Regions from separate parts of the Homo sapiens genome. Here region 2 is linked to region 1. Evidence: promoter capture Hi-C in human tissues and cell types (Jung and others, 2019). All regions are on one chromosome and are shown on one strand. Each heading gives the region's core, a stretch centred on a gene start or on the middle of the fragment in contact. The rest is flanking DNA. Distances are from core to core; before and after follow the strand shown.

What was found. The method cuts DNA at HindIII sites, captures the fragments that hold promoters and counts their contacts. A contact is called where the count stands out against the background at its distance.
Region 2: a contact is called between the fragment with the promoter of SLC1A5 here and the fragment with the promoter of PPP1R13L in region 1, in 1 of the 25 tissues and cell types used here (stomach).

The regions. Positions count from the first base shown.
Region 1 is chr19:45,403,754-45,406,345 of GRCh38, forward strand. It overlaps PPP1R13L (protein phosphatase 1 regulatory subunit 13 like), which reads right to left and starts at 1,316. Exons shown (of 13, transcript NM_006663.4): 1 at 1,246-1,316. RefSeq lists enhancers at 1,202-1,997, 1,968-2,167. The HindIII fragment of the contact is 18,212 bases long and covers 1-2,592 here.
Region 2 is chr19:46,787,306-46,789,897 of GRCh38, forward strand. It overlaps SLC1A5 (solute carrier family 1 member 5), which reads right to left and starts at 1,289. Exons shown (of 8, transcript NM_005628.3): 1 at 95-1,289. The coding sequence starts at 660. RefSeq lists silencers at 367-416, 427-476, 1,447-1,606 and enhancers at 957-1,558, 1,207-1,501. The HindIII fragment of the contact is 6,368 bases long and covers 1-1,997 here.

The DNA of each region.
Region 1 (2,592 bases), core at 66-2,565:
GCCCTTCAAGCCCAGACATTGGGAAACACTCCTCTCTCATCAGATGCTCGCCTCCCCCATTCTGTTTTTAATCCCCCTTCTTAGGACGCATGGGGGTGGAGAGAACGGGGAGATAGACAGAGGGAGGTGCCTGGTCCTGCCCTCCCCCCGCCTCAAGGACAGACAGACACCTCCAGAATTAGCCTCTGTCCCTCCCTTATCTCCCACAATACCCCAGGTCAGACAGATGGGCGTGGAGGTGACATTTCTCACCTCAGGGTCAGGGCAAGGAGCCCTGAGGCAGAAGGTTAGTCAGAAAATCTGGCGGGGGCGGATGGAATCCCGTCCCCCAGAGAGCTGCAGAAGAAGGAGGAGGCAGAATCCTGACCCTACAAACTCTACTGCCTGTGTGAGCTCCAAGCCTCAGTTTACCCCTTCCTCTCCGTGTAATGGTTAAATGCCCGGCTATGCAAACCTCCCAGAATCCAATAGCCGCTTTCCGGAATTCTGCCCTGGGTTCTAGAACTACCTCTGCAAACCCAGCTGTTTCCCACCCCATAAGGCAATAGGGGAGCCCACCTCCGCCAGGGGGTGCCCTAGGGCGGATGTCCCTTCTCTGGTTAGGCAGGTCTGACGCCCAGGTTAATGACATGTTGGGTTCGCTCAGCGGCACAGAGGAGGTTGGAGATCTGCCTCGGTGTTTTCTCTCCTACCCCGCCCCCATCCCCGAGCCGAAAAGTCGGGGGAGAGCCGGGACACAGCCTCCGGAGGGACCCCGGGTACCTGTCCTGCTCCACTTCAGGAACCCAGGCTCCACTATCCCTGCCCCACCCTTAATTCTGCTCAGAGACCTAGAAGATCGGTCGAGACAGCAGCTTGAGGCTGGCAGGGTGGTCACCCATTCCACCTTGAGCCCCACCAGTCTGAGCCTCTCATTTCTGACCAAGACTCGGGGATTCGAACCCCTATACTACCCAAAGACTCGGCTTCCTAGAGCCCCCCAGTTCGAGGGACTCAGGAATTCCAGCTCCAACGTCTCCCCGGGATGAAGGGGTAGAATCCCTCCATTCCAAGAATTCAGGCATCCGAACCCGCTTTCCTTCCCTCCAGTAAAACAGGCAACGGAGTTTCCTTCTAAGGATCCAGGTGTCGGCGCGCCCCAAATTCCGCCCTGGGACCTGGCGTCCGAGTCCCCTCCCAATCCTCCCAGGGACGCGGGTGTTGGGCTTTTTCAGGGCCTCTGGTCCCCAGGAGGGTGAAACTCACGGATCCGGGCAGATCCTGGCACCTGGGGGCTTCCTCCAGCTCGGGCTCCGGCTTGGGGAGCGGAGAACGGGGCGGGGCAGGAGCTGGGAACAGGTTAGACGACGTGACTTGGGCTGGAGGGAGGCGGGTCCCGGTGGGGAGGGGGAGCCAAGGTCGCCTCGAGCACCTTGGGACTTGTAGTCCCGGAGGGACAGGACGTAGCCCAAGACGATCCCATTTGGATTCACCCAGAGTCCATTTCACAGACAGGAAGGGCGAGGCCCAGAAGCCGAGAGCGACCAGGCCAGGGAGATACAGAAGAGCCGAGACGCCTGCCTCGCTGTGGCTGGAGACTGACTCCTGAGCCCTTGCCCCACCCCTTCAGGCGCACTATCCCCTTTCCTGATCAGTATCCCCCAGGGTCTCTGAGCCCGAATCTCCCCGTCGATAAAAAGCGCGGGTTGGATCTTCAAAGGATGTCCCAGCAAGAGTTCAAAATCTTAGTTTGGACTACAACCCCCAGCAGCCTCCGCGACCGCCCTCGGGCGACTCTTTGCCTCGGGTCCTGTGGGAATTGTAGTCCTGGAGCCCGCAGGGGCTGCACCCCGGTGTCTCTCTCGCCCACGCGAAGGAAACCGTCTGGAGATCCTGGATAGGGGAAACATTTCCCCTTCCCCTTGACCCTCCCTCCGCTCTGGAAAGCCTCTCCCACCTGGGGAGAAGGGGTGCCCCAATTCTGGAGTAGGATCCTAAATCTTGGCAGAGGGGGCGGGAAGTGGCGCTGACACACTGGCCAGGAATGCAGTCGGGTCACCCTGTCTAGCCACCGTCTCGCGGCTCCAACCGCCGCCCAACGCGGGGCGGCCCCAGTGGGAAGGGAAGTGGGTGCGTCCCCCAAATCTGTGTCCACGTGCCGCTGTTTACACGCTCCCTGGGGCAGGGAGGAGTCGCCGATCAGGTCCCTTCCTGAAAGTCATCGAGGTTTCCCACGCATGAGACTAAACCCCCGAGGGCATCTACAAGTCCCATTTGATCCACAAACGCTACACCGTGCCCAGCACCACTCCACGCGTGTGGGGCTCCTGGGTCCGAGGCTCCGCCCTCGAGAACCACAAGCTCCTCCCCCTATGTTTCCCGCTCCCCCGGAGTCCAGAAGCCCCGCCCCTGGCTGGAACTTCACGCCCTCCGGACGGATTGCCCCTATTTCTCCATTTTCCCGCTTCTCCCAGTCAAGTTCTGAACTTGTGAGGCATCTGGGCCTCCCCAGAAGACATTTAACACAGAAAGCACAGCCCTACTAACTAGTATTCTTACCTGTCTCTTCAAGAATTTCAGACCAATCGACCGTCCTGTCTCTTTAAGGCTTAG
Region 2 (2,592 bases), core at 39-2,538, 1.4 Mb after region 1:
CTGCTCCAGGGGCCCCAAAGCCCCGTCCTGTCCACGTGACCACTCCCGCCATCCGTAACACTCTTCCCCACCTCCCGGGGGAGCGGGAGCTGACCTCGCAAGATCCAGGAACGAATCGAGCACCTCCTTGCTGGGGGCATTTTCGGCACTGCCCGCGGCTCCCACGGAGGCGTTGATGGCGGCGGAGGCGGCGCCCGGCTGCAGAGCCAGCGCCAAGCCCACTCCGAGCGCCGACGCCAGCAGCGTGGTGACCAGGAAAAAGAGCAGCGCCCAGGCGCCCAGACGGCCGAGCGCGCCGGGGTCCAGGCTGGCGGCGCCGCCGATCAAGCTGCACACCACCAGCGGCAAGATGATCATCCGCAGCAGACGCAGCAGCAGCTCGCCCGGGAAGACGAAGGCGCTCAAGCGCTCCGGGCCCAACGCCAGCGCACCCCCGGCCCCCGACACCCCCAGTCCCAGCGCCACGCCGGCCACCACGGCCACCACTGTCAGCAGCACAAGCAGGTTGGCTCGAAGGCAGCGGCGCACCTGGTCCCGGGAACCGCAGTAGCCGCCTGCTGCCGCGCCTTGGTCCTCGATGGAGGCCAGCGCCAGGCCCCCGTTGGCGGTGGGCTCCGCCGCTGCGAGCCCCTTGGAGTCTCGAGGAGGATCGGCCACCATGATGGGAAGCACCGGGGTTTCTTAGCGCCTGGAAGCTGGCTGGGAGCGCTTGGGCTCCTTCCCAGGACCCGACGTTCCTAGGACTGAGTTGAGTAACAGCACCTGGAGACTGGAACTTTGGAGGGCTCCTTAGAGTTGTGAGTTCACAGCACTGAAGTTCCTTGGCTCTTGGAAGCTGGAGTGTTTAAATTCCCCAGGCTGGGCGCTGAGGCTTCTCTGCTCTGCCCCGTGTGCCAGATGTCCGAAAGCTGGGAGTTCGGAGCGCCCGGGTTCCTTGGCCCTAGGAGCTGGGAATACGAGAGTTTCTCTGGGTGGGACGTGGGGCCCTTGGCTCCAGGAGGTTGAGTGCCCCCAGATGGCGGAGGTCTGCAGGAGGCTAGGTTCTGGTGGCGCAGATCCCGGACGCCTGGATCCGGGAGGCGGGGACCCGGGCTGCCTGGGTCTTGGACACTGAGGGCTGGGATGCCAGAATCTGGGGGCCGGGAAGCGGACCTCCGGAAACAGGGGACCCAGGCTCTTAGGTCCGGGAGGGTGGGATGCGGGCCCCTGTGTACGGAAGGCGGTGGTCTGGTGTCCGGGAGTAGCGGTTACCAGCCAGAGAAAGCCTCCCGGGCGTGCCGCGTGGCTCTGAGCCCGTTTAGCGGAAGCTGCCAGGGATAAGGGTAGGGGGCGGGGCTTGAGAAGGCGGGGACCGACCCTCGGGCGCCGATTGGCTGCAGAGCGTTCGGAGACTGGACGAGTAGGGGCGGGGCTGATACCCGAGATGGGCCAGGTCCCCCATAGAAGGCAGATTAATAATACCCATCTCCAGGAGCCGGGCCCAGAGACGACGGGGCGGGGCCAGGAAGGGGCGGGGCCTTGGGAGGGTGCTGTTTCCCGCCAAAGGAACTGGGTTGTGGGTTGGAGCCCTTAAACCACAGGGGTTCGTTCCCTGGTGCGAGGGTCGCTAGAAAGCTCCGGTGGTCCTCGGTGATTCATTTGCAACTCAACTCAGCTTTGGAACTCCTCAGCCCTGAGTTTGGTCTTTAGTCGCCTCTGAGAACTTTAATTCCTCGAATATAAAGTGCAGGTGTTAAAAGCTTTTGTCTCATATGATTGCTGTAAGATTTAAATAAAATTGATGTATTTATTTAGGGAGCCGTGGCTCAAGCCTGTAATCCCACCACTTTGGGAGGTGAAGCGGGCGGATCACTTGAGGTCAGGAGGTCGAGACCAGCCTGGCCAACATGGTGAAACCCGTCTCTACTAAAAATACAAAAATTACCTGGTGTGGTGGCACGTGCCTGTAATCCCAGCTACTGGAAGCCTGAGGCAGGAGAATCGCTTGAACCCCAGAGGCAGAGGAAGTCATTCACCTTGAGGCCACACCTAGAGAGGATGACACGTGCATGCCCACCTCCCAAGCCCCTAACCGCACCCACTCTGCTGCCTCCCCAAATTCTCTGTTAGTGGCCGTTTGGGAGGTTAACAATGAATTATGATTCCTTACTCCACCTGACAGTGTTGAAATCCTCATTCCTTTCCCATCTCTAGCCTGTTCTGTGACATTTCAGGCTTTCATGCTTGCTCAAAGATTGTAGTGGTAATGTCAGAAGCTTCCTCCTACAGCAGCTGTGAGGCCTCAGGTAATTTACAACCTCTATGAGGCTCAGTCTTCATATGTGTAAATGGGAATAATAATAAGTCATACCGCCTTGAGTGTTGCAAGGGTTCAAATGAGATAATACGGCCGGGCGCAGTGGCTCACGCCTGTTATCCCACCACTTTGGGAGTTGATGCGGGCAGATCACTTGAGGTCAGGAGTTCCAGACGAGCCTGGCCAACATGGCAAAACCCTGTCTCTGCTGAAAATGCAAAAATTAGCTGGGTGTGGTGGCACATGCCTGTAATCCCAGCTACTCAGGAGGCTGAGGCAGAAGAATTGCTTGAATC